Regions from separate parts of the Homo sapiens genome. Here all the other regions are linked to region 3. The links are contacts of gene promoters, found by promoter capture Hi-C in blood cells and fetal thymus (Javierre and others, 2016). All regions are on one chromosome and are shown on one strand. The core of a region is centred on a gene start or on the middle of the fragment in contact, and the rest is flanking DNA. Distances in the headings are between cores, read along the strand shown.

Region 1 (3,540 bases), core at 575-3,074, about 110 Mb before region 3:
TGGAGATTTTCTGTATTCCCTGTACATGCAGTTTCTCTTTCCTAGGCCTCTAGTTTAGAGTTGGGCAGTACTTGGGGCTCACGGCACCAACAAGGGGAGGGTGGCTAGGAAAGTGCGCTGGCAAATGGATGGAAGCGAGGTGAGGCTTAATGGGCAAATGGGCAGAGTAGAAAACTCGGGGTCTAGCTGGGACTACCAGCTGCGTTCCCACCCTGGATTTCCAGGGGTCGTCATTTTTGCCCTTTCTAACCAAAGGTCTTGCCTCTCGTGGGGGTGGGGACGGGGTCTCCCTCTGTGGCCCTCTTCCAAACCCTTCCCGCATCTCCCCTCCAGCATCTGACGCCCCACTTCGAACGCTCGCGGGCTCTCCCTCCCCTCCCAGCCGATCTCCCTCTGCGAGTGGGAGCTCCACCCCCGCGGCTGTGGCCCCCCGGCTCGGTGGCGGTTACGTGGCTGTTCAGCCGCTCGCTCTCCGCCGCCCCTGCGTCGCCTCCCCACAGTAACGACGCCATGGCTGCGATTGCTGCTCCCGCCCCCAGCACGTGCTTCCACCACCGGCGCGAGGCGGTGCTGGCCCCATCCGCTGGCCAATGGGCTTCCTTAGGGGGCAGGCGTCCGCGTCCGCGCCCGCGACCACCGCGGTGCGGCGCGCAGGCGCTGGAAGGCTGGGTGGCGCGCGGAAGGGGCGGAGGGCAGAGAGCGGGGCGGGGGGCAGAGAGCGGGGCGGAGGGCAGAGAGCGGGGCGGAGGGCAGAGAGCGGGGCGAAAGGGCGCGGACCGGAGGGCAGAGGGGGCAGCTTCCGCAGAGTGGAGAGCGCCCCCCGCGCCGCCCCGCGGCCCGCCGCTCACACAGCCCTCCAGGCGGGAGCCCCCCGGACTCCCCGCCGCGCTTTACGCCCCGTGTCGGTTTCCCTGGAAATTTCCGCCTCCACATCACAAGATGTCAGAAAGGTTAGCGAATTGGTTAGCAAAGTGGAGACAAAATCTGATGAATTTGATATGACGAATGACCTCGAATGCCACAGTTGCGGAAAGGAAGCAGAACTGTTCAAGCTCTAACTGCTGTTCCTGCCCTAGATACCTGTGATGTTCCACATAGGCTTTTTAAAGCTTTTATTCTGAAATGTGGTCTCTTGTTAAAAACATTACCTTTCGGTATAACCTCTACGTCCTACATGCGTTTGCATAATCCGGTATAGATCCCTGGATCCCTGGTACTAATGATTTAATGACCGCTCAATTTGGACGAAAGAACCAAATTCCACCTCCCCCCCGCCCCCCAGTTTTCTAATTGTAATTTTGAGATTTTGATCAGCATTTCTGGAATTGGGGGCAAAAATACAAAAACCCACACGAAACTGCAGTCATGATCTCTCCGTGGTGCTGAAGCAACGCTCCCCGCTCTGTTCGGTCACTCTCAGGGCACCTAGTCGTTTGTTTTGAGATTATCATATTCATTTCAGCTTTTAATTTGAATTCTAATAGTAAATGTTTTTGTCTCTCAATGGTAACTTTCTTCTCATTTAACTAGGTATAAAATCGAGCCAAGATCTTCAATCTTTTAGTTTTCGTATAAGGATAGCAGAATTTGAAAAATTACCTTTTTTCTATTATTTTAGCGTAGCACTACAATTCCTCCTTTTATTGCTGTCCCGCCACAGGCCCAGATTCTGCCCTGTGGGCGGAGAAACGGTAGCTGGACTAGAAAACCTCAGGTAGATTCTAGCACCAAGCTCGGTTCTCAGAACTACATTTCCCACAAACTTGGACTACACCTCCCATGAGGGCTCGGGCGCCTGCGCAGAAGACGCACAGTGACAGCTTCCTTTCTCGGAAACGCGGCGCGGCCGGCTGCCGGAAAGTAAGTGTGGGATTTTTGGAGTGGGTTACTTTCTGGGTTCCACAGGGGAAGGGACAAATGGACACACTGCTGAACGGTTGTCTGTTGTCTTCTTTTTGCCCTCTTTCACATACTTTGGTCTTTTCAGGAAAGCATTGCCGTATGGAAATGAGACCTCGCTTAAGACCATGTATTTTTCTTTTGTGCCTGGTACTTTCTGGAGCTCTCGGTGGAAACTCGCCGCAGTAGGGTCGTCTTTAATTCCGTTGTGACGGGAGCTTCAGTGGTACTTGTACTGTGGAGTACAAAAGTGCTCTGCTGCCCCACTTAGAATTGGGTGCTCATAAAACAGTAGAAGTTGAGAACCCAGGAGTATGTGGGAGGCTGTGGCAGCAATTTTCAAATTATTTTGGGGATTGCCTTACATACAGACCACGATTGCTTTCTAGTGATCATAGTGCGTGTCTGCTAATCCTTTGGACAGTACTCCCTCTTCTTCCCTTTGGATTAATATAAAGTTTATCAAGAGGAATGCTATTTATGTGTTAACCCACTGGTTCCTGAGATTAGGACTTTTTTTTTTTTTTTTTTAAGACTGTCGCCCAGGCTGAGTGAAGTGGCGTGATCACTGCTCACTGCAGCCTCTACCTCCTGGGCTCAAGCGATCCTTCCACCTCAGCCTCCAACTAGCTGGGACTGCAGGCGTGCGCCATCTTGGCAGCCTAGTTTTTAATTTTTTAATTAACACACGGTCTCGCTGTGTTGCCCAGGTTGGTCTCGAACTCCTGACTTCGAGCGACCCCCCCTCCCCCCCGCCACCACCCCGTCTTGGCCTCTCAAAATGTTGGGATGACAGGCGTGAGCCACGGCGCCTGGCCCAATGTATGGAACATCTGGTGATGGCCGTTTTAGTTTGTAATTGGTGCTTAGGGGACACACGAATTCCCTCTCTGTGGTTACTTCGCAGCCCTGGCCAGGGTGTTACTTTAAACGTCTGCTTGGGAACTCCTGCACTTCACCCTGAATTAGGGTAAGGTGTGCTGGAAAAAGCACTGTAGTGTACCAAGTCCTGTTTTTGCCACAAATCTGCCTTATGACCAACTAGACTCACTCCCTGGCCTAGTTCTTTAGTTAGCACGGGAGTTGAACTTTGGAGACTTTGGTAATGTTGGACTTTGAGATCCAAATAATCACTGGAGTGTTTTGCATGTTAAAATCACCATGTAATTTTTGACCTCATAAAAAGTCGAGGTATAAATACAAATTACCTTTAATCCCACTACTCGTTAGGTTTTGATCTTTCCCTGTGTGTACTGAGATCATCCTGTATAGTTTATGATACATTCATGTCACTTAATTTCACCTTCCCATATTACTTTCCCAAGATTCCCAATGACTATTTAATATTCTAATGTCTTTAAAGACATTTACTATTCCACTGTTGGTGGACAGTTTGCAGTTTCTACTTTTTTGCGGTGAGTATATCCTACATGTACCTGAGTCATTGATTACTTCTTTTCCAGACAAATGCCTAACAAATAGAACTGGGTGAATGTGTGAATTATGTGGCTTTAAATGTTACAGGGAAAATGATTTTCGCAGATAGTAACGGTCAAGGTCATTCACCTTTATGTTAGAACTTTTTCTCTGTGAACAAGCAAACTGTACTATCATTCTTCTGGCCTCTGGTGTTAAAACTGA
Region 2 (3,845 bases), core at 922-3,421, about 27 Mb before region 3:
TTATTGCCAAAAATAGAATGAGTTGCAAATATTCTAATATGCTTAAAAAGTTAGTCTGTCTCCTTTTCTTATGTTATCAACGTAACACAATTACCAAACACTGAAAAGAGTTCACACACAAAGTACAGGTTCTTGCCTGATTAAACAAATTATTTATATTTACATTCTGACCCTACAAAAAAATATTTTCCCAGCATGTGAGTATATACCAAAGTTTAAGTTTGCCTGTTACTGCACAAATCTTAATTAACTTTAATTCACGGGCCTGCTTTTAAAACAATGACCAGTCTTTCAAATTTATCAAAATAGTTTATCACATTAGTTTACATCTGTGTTTAGGAATATTTTAGATGTCTGAAAATTCTCTTGTTTTTGATTTTGCTAAATATTTTTTAAAACTCTGTGCCAGAATCATAACTTTTATTTTAATTTGGTTATGTCTTAAATATTTTTAAAAGATGGATCATGGGAATCCTCTTATTCAGGCTATGAGAAAGTGCAAAAAAAAAGGGGTCTATCTCATTTTTTCCCCAACAAATTAATCTTTTTTAAATGAAAAATTTCTAACTACTTTTGCTTTATTTAAATTAAAAATCCTGCTTTCTATCATCTTCATGATGTTTTACATCAGTTAAGATAAGCAAAGTTTTAGTACATGATACTTCTTTCGTCTAATTGAAATGCTCTTTTCAACCCATGGATAAACAATAGAAAACGTTTCCTTACCTAAAGAAGAAAAGTTTCACCTTTAAAAGAATATCCAAAAAAATCTTCAAATTTCTTCAGGAGATGAAATTTTTGCTATTTTCCTATAGAAATAAAAAAAAAACAAGTAAATGATTATGATTACTTCTGTTCTGTAAAAAATCATGATGGACATATAGATATTTGTATTTTTGAGTCCTAATTTTATGTAGCAAGTCTGAAATATAATTAAATTAAATTAATGCTGCAATTAAAAACCCCATTTTGAATTTTATCACAGATAGTAGTTTCTGATATACTTAGTTTTTCTGCATTTTACCCTGCCACTGACATATTTTGGGGGTCTTATTTATGACTCAATAGTTTTAATACTTTCAATATATTTAAATAATTAACTAGCCTTATCTATTTTAAAAATTTCCTAATACGTAACAATTCTTATTTTATATATAGTTTCTATAGTCTAAGCTTCAAATAAACATATGAAAGAAAAAAACCTAAACCCTAGAATTTCTAAGTTTCGAAAGGCCTTTCTATCTTCAAATCAATTTTCTCGAACAGAGATATTTAAAACCCTACATACTCTAAGATGGAAATGCTGAATACTCAATTTAGGCTGAATTTTTAAAAACGATTATACTGCTTCTCCTTCTCCCTCTTTCTGCCCACAATTGTCTCTCCTTTTTAATGCAGGTTTACATTCATGAACTCACATGCCTCCTCTCCAAAGAAAAATTATTTTCTGCTTAGAAAATTTTACGATTTCTTACATATTCCCTTCATTCCCCATAAGGATCTACTACTTCAAACTTTAGAGGGGGGGAATGAGAATTAATTGTGCTGCTTTCCCCCCTCCCCACAGTGTTTTTCCTACACCAGTTTTCTAATTATTTCTTCTATGAATCCACCATTCCCCACTTTTTTTTTTAACAGACCAATAAAATGCCTAACATTCTTCTCCCCAGCATTTGCGGGCATATTCTGATTTTATTTTTGTTTTCATGTTTACTCACAGTTTAGTTAAGCTTATCTCTCCATACTCCAAACATAACCAATTTTCACTCCCTACTAGGTACTTGTGGACTTGCAATTTGCCAGACCCTGGCAATTTCTTGTTCTTCACCAGGGCATCCCGCTTAGGGTTCTCATACAGGTGAATAAAGTTGGAGAGCACAGCTGAGTGAGAACCACAAGAAAGAATGCCAACCGCAGACACCACCCCTCATTTCACGAAAAGTATCTTGCTCAGAACTGACCCTGGTGCTTCACAGCAACATAGAACGTATAAAATTCCTACGCACAGACACTAAAAAATTGCTTTCCCTTATGCCATTCTTGGCAACCTTTGGTTTCCTAAGCTAGTTTTTTTTTCTTTTTCTCTTTTTTTTCCCCTGAAGGATGTGACTTTTGTGGTACAAGTTTGCAAGTACTAAGCAGAGGTTCCTTCTATGGATAGAAGAGATGTCAACTCACAAGCCCAAGCAATTTCTAGGGCAGAAGCAACAGGACCTACTGTCTCCACCCAGACTAAAGGCTTGAGTGCTCCCTCTCATTTTGCCTTGTCAAAATGAGGGATTGTAACTAGGCTGTGCCTCAGTTTCTTCATCTCTAACTTGATTCCATTACCCAGCACAACAAGCAGATACTGAAGTGGGAGCAGCCAAGGGAAGCAGAACCAAAAGGCAAAAAGAAGAAAGACCTAAACTAAGATAGTATTCAGCCCTCAGCTCTACTCGTTTTCCTGAAGCCTTTCTCCCAGCAAGGTGGGCGGGCTGTGCTGTTAGGCAAGGTTGAAGCGTCCAATATGGAGAGCCTCTAATATCTCCACACCTTACAAAAGTGCAGATGAGAAAAAAGTGCAATGTTTTCCTTTTTAAATTAAAAACAATGACAAACTCAAAGCTTCTTTCTGAAGTACTTAAAGATGTGGTAGGTAAATAATGCTTTTTATAAAAAATAAAACACAAGTGGGTACAGAGCCATAAAAATCTTATCTTTGATTCACCCTCAGGGCTGTTGGCTTATTTTTCTCCAGGTAAACAGACACACTAGAGATGTGGACTTTCACAAGTGTCCTTATTCAGACCCGACACTATTGGAACTGGGGAGCTAGCACAGTGGGGAGCCCTTAAATCTTCGGGAAGACTCCCTCCAACCCAACCCTGTCTCGGGAAACTGTCAAGGAATGTAGCAAAGCATTTTTAGTGTTCTGAAAGAGGACTTCAGTCCCCTTCCCTGCTCAGAACTCCATGCCAAATTAATCTGACTCATTAGTCCTATTGAGACACACTGTTATTTAAAAGAAAGCATTAGGCATAAACTTATTTATAAGTAATTATTTAAAACACCACGATATATTAATCTTAAAAGAGTAAGGGATTAACATAAACTGCTTACTAGGTTCAACACTAGATGCAAATAGATCCTTCCTTTGCTGGAACCATCAATGCTGCCAAGCTCTCCCCCAAACTTCCCTTTCCGTTTAAGAAAACCAAGTTCCTAGAAATAATAAAATAAGAGTTTTCTTTTTCATCAACTTTTAAACATTAGCTACAAATCCATTCAAAAACTGTTTAGCATAAAATTAGATTATCTCTTTGCCCTTTCTGCCTCTTTCCCTTCCTCTTTTAATTAATTTGGGAAAATTCACTGCCTTACCCACTCTACTTTCCTACCTGGACATCACTCTAAAACTGAAGGAATGTCCGCTTTCCCTTCATCCTAACATGAAATCTCTCTTTAAACACACCACAAACTTCCCTGATTTCACTGTACTGAAATCCTGGCCAGATTTCACCAAACTCTATTCTCATAGAAAAGTAAAATGTAAAATGAGGGGGTTGTACCAGACAATCTCCAAGGTCCCATTTAGCACGAACATTCTATATGTGTCTATGATGATCCAGAGAAACTGGAATATCGCCATATAAGCACCCGAATTTGGACTTCATTTCTATATGTGTTACTGCTGCCTCTCTCAGTCTGCTTTCCCTCCCCCTCCCAGACACTGATGGTTTATTTAACAAAGCCCTCACTGAAAATCTGCATTCTGACAAATGCCACAGAGGCAGATCTACCCTTGACTCCACCAGAGAGCCTTCAAGTGCACAGAGGGCCATGGTAATAATTTGCTAATTATT
Region 3 (3,543 bases), core at 875-3,374:
GGGAATTGGAGTCATATTAAATTTGAGATACCTATTCCATATCTGAACTAAAAATGTAAAATTGGCTAATGATAAACTTTGCTAGAAAAAAACATTACCCAAATAGGGTACCCGATTTGACTAAAATTCCTAATGCTTTGGGAAAAGTTATTAATCAAATAGTGACAGATTATGGCTTTTTTGGGGGGGAGGGGTGTTGTTTTCTTGGAGAACTGACCCGTTTGTTGTTATAAAGGGTTCTCTCTTTATCCCTGATACTTTTTTTTTGAGACGGAGTCTCGCTCTGCCACCTAGGCTGGAGTGCAGTGGTGCGATCGTGGCTTACTGCAAGCTCCGCCTCCCGGGTTCACGCCATTCTCCTGCCTCAGCCTCCTGAGTAGCTGGGACTACAGGCGCCCGCCACCACGCCCGTCTAATTTTTTTGTATTTTTAGTAGAGACGGGGTTTCACCGTGTTAGCCAGGATGGTCTCGATCTCTTGATCTCGTGATCCGCCCGCCTCAGCCTCCCAAAGTGCTGGGATTACAGGCGTGAGCCACCGCGCCCGGCTATCCCTGATAACTTTATTTCAAATAGTGACAGGTTAAAAGTTAAGAGCGGATGTTTCAGTATCTAGTTTCCCAGCGTCTTGCCAGTTACTTTAAGCTTGTCGACAGGAGTTTGATTTCACTGACCTCCCTCCTTCCTAGAGCTATGCTTACTTTTTAAAATTTTAAGAAGCTGCTTCATTTGCCCATTCTTTCAACGCATTGTTGTGTACCGGCACTGAGTCAGTCTTTTTCTTTCTTTCCTTTTTTTTTTTTTTTTTTAAGACAGAGTCTTGCTCTGTTGCCCAGGCTGGCGCGCAGTGGTGCTATCTCGGCTCACCGCAATGTCCTTCCCGGCTCCAGAGATTCTCCACCTCAGCCTCCTTCGTAGCTGGAACCAAAGGCACGAGCGAGCACGCCCGGCTAATTCTTTGTATTTATAGAGAGGGGGTTTCGCCATGTTGCCCAGGCTAGGTCTGTCTTAAAAGAGCTTCTTCCGGCCAGGCGCGGTGGCTCACGCCTGTAATCCCAGCACTTTGGGAGGCCGAGGCGGGCGGATCACCTGAGGTCGGGAATTTAAGACCAGCCTGACCAACATGGAAAAACCCGTCTCTACTAAAAATACAAAATTAGCTGGAAGTGGTGGCGCATGCCTGTGATCCCAGCTATTCAGGAGGCTGAGGCAGGAGAATCGCTTGAAGCCGGGAGGCGGAGGGTGCGGCAAGCCGAGATCGCGCCATTGCACTCCAGCCTGCGAATCAAGAGCGAAACTCCGTCTCAAAAAAAAAAAAAAGCTTCTTCCTTGACGGTTCCCTTTTCCCATGAAATTCAAATGCTTCATTTTATCCCTCATCCTCTTGGCCTTTGCAGTCTTGCTCCCAAGGCTCTTCCCTGCCCGCCAACTCTCTCACTTGGGAACATAGCTCCGTAAGCCTCTGCCCAACCCTTCTCCCCGGCGAGCCCAGCGCCCCAGAGCCCTGCGCAGGGGAATTCGAGTGCGGAGGGCGGCAGGCATCCGTGGGGACCTGGTTCAACTCCTTAGACCGGTTCTTCACCGTCAGCGACTCTCCCCTGACAGATTAGGGTAGGATTTAGAAATGAGAAATGGAAGCGCTGGCTGGGCGGTAGCCGCTGCCATGGCTTCCCGTGTGGTCCTCATCACATGCTATTGTATCTGTTAATTTATTAGGCGCAGGGCCGACTCTGAGGGATCTAGTGCCAGGACAAAGCCAGGCACTGGTGAATGAGCAAACACCTGTGTATGGCTGCTTCTTCCAGCCCTACCTGCTCCATACCCACCCCCAGCGCAGCATTCGAATCTTTGTGATCTCGGCGTCCACAGGGAATTTCGACGCAAGCTGGCGTCAGCCTCAAATTCCCGCTCTGGCAACAAGGCTGACCAAAGACCGATGCATGCCGGGATGAGGCTGGATTGACGATCTCTTGCGACGCTGAAATGCATTTCGGGAGATGTAGTCACACAGACGGGCGGTGGCTGCGCAGCGTAGCTCCGCCTCCTGCGTGAGAGGAAGCGGGGACGTGTGAGGTCACTTCCTGCGTGTTGGGTGGCTTCCTGCGGCGTTTCCACTCTCGCTCTCCTTTCGTTGCCTGATCGCCGCCATCATGGGTCGCATGCATGCTCCCGGGTGAGCTCGGGGCATCAAGCCGGATTGCTGGGCGGGGGGTGGGAGGAAGACAGGGAGTGTGGGCAGCGGGCCGAGGGGATGATGTTCTGGGCTGCTCTGGCACTAGCCGCCACCTCACCTCGAGACTGCTTCTCTCCCCAGGAAGGGCCTGTCCCAGTCGGCTTTACCCTATCGACGCAGCGTCCCCACTGTAAGTAGCGCGCTGGGACCGGGGAGAATCCGGGGAGGGGGTTGGCATTTGTCTCGGGTGAAGCGACGCCAGGGTGAGGAACTTGCGTGTATGAGGAGCGCGGTTTTGCGGAAGGAGAGACCGCTGTTCTGCGGCGCCATTCCTGGGTTCTCATCCTAAGGCTGCTTTCTATTCCATAACAGTGGTTGAAGTTGACATCTGACGACGTGAAGGAGCAGATTTACAAACTGGCCAAGAAGGGCCTTACTCCTTCACAGATCGGTGAGTGTTTGTGTCTAACATAGCCTATTTCGCCTGTCCTCGTGTGACTTGTAGGATCTAGTAGGTGGTAAAGTTATTTTAAAAATAGCCAAAACTCTGGTCTCGCCACCGTGCTAGAGGCATCATTGTAAGCACTTCACATGTACTGATTTCGTTTAATTCTGACCACAATACTTTGAAATAAATCTTCATGGCTTTCACCCCAGTTTACAGTTGAGGAAGCAGAGGCACACTGCCGCTGGATACTAACCAGCCCCAAATCACACAGCTGTCAAGTGGAGGAGTTGGAATTGGCTAAGCAGAGTGCCTGACACAGTTCCTCACAGTTAGGTGTGGTTTGAATCTCAGCTGCGTGTGACTTCGTGCAAGTGGCTTCATTCAGCAAATGTTTACCTTCTATGTGCTGAACATGGTTCTGGGGCCTGAGAACATACTACTCTCCGACTCCCCCGCCCAAAAAAGCCAGCCGCAATGTGCCTGTAGTCCCAGATACTTGGGATGCAGAGGTGAGAGGATCACCAGAGCCTAGAAGTCCCAGGCTGCAGTGAGCTATGATGAAGCCACTGCACTCCTGGGTGACAGAGAGACCCCACCTCTTTTTTTTTTTTTTTTTGAGACAGTCTTGCTCTTGTCGCCCAGTCTGGAGTGCAGTGGCGCGATCTCAGCTCACTGCAACCTCCACCTCCTGGATTCAAGCGATTCTCCTGCCTCAGCCTCCCGAATAGGTGGGATTACAGGCGCCCGCCAGCAGGCCCAGCTAATTTGTGTGTTTTTGTTTGAGACCGATTCTCACTTTGTCACCCAGGCTGGAGTGCAGTGGTATGATCTCGGCTCACTGCAACCTCCGCCTCCTGGGTTCAAGCAAGCAATTCTCCTGCCTCTGCCTCTGGAGTAGCTGAGACTACAGGCCGCACCACCAC

Evidence for each region. Contacts are between HindIII fragments. The CHiCAGO score rates a contact against its expected background, and 5 or more counts as called.
Region 1: a contact is called between the fragment with the promoter of PUS3 here and the fragment with the promoter of RPS13 in region 3, in 2 of 17 cell types (total CD4 T cells and total B cells). The highest score is 9.7, in total CD4 T cells.
Region 2: a fragment that was not itself captured here is called in contact with the fragment with the promoter of RPS13 in region 3 in 8 of 17 cell types (non-activated CD4 T cells, naive B cells, fetal thymus and 5 more); the score reaches 21.3 in non-activated CD4 T cells.

The regions. Positions count from the first base shown.
Region 1 is chr11:125,901,490-125,905,029 of GRCh38, reverse strand. PUS3 (pseudouridine synthase 3) reads left to right here and starts at 1,824. Exons shown (of 4, transcript NM_031307.4): 1 at 1,824-1,860. DDX25 (DEAD-box helicase 25) reads right to left here and starts at 522. Exons shown (of 12, transcript NM_013264.5): 1 at 450-522. The coding sequence starts at 512. The HindIII fragment of the contact is 3,679 bases long and covers 1,112-3,540 here.
Region 2 is chr11:43,637,916-43,641,760 of GRCh38, reverse strand. It overlaps a transcript of HSD17B12 not described here. Among named protein-coding and RNA genes, the nearest start is that of HSD17B12, 41 kb to the left of the region's middle. The HindIII fragment of the contact is 877 bases long and covers 1,733-2,609 here.
Region 3 is chr11:17,076,248-17,079,790 of GRCh38, reverse strand. It overlaps RPS13 (ribosomal protein S13), which reads left to right and starts at 2,124. Exons shown (of 6, transcript NM_001017.3): 1 at 2,124-2,172; 2 at 2,314-2,362; 3 at 2,545-2,623. The coding sequence starts at 2,150. RefSeq lists an enhancer at 1,891-2,090. The HindIII fragment of the contact is 8,959 bases long and covers 1,323-3,543 here.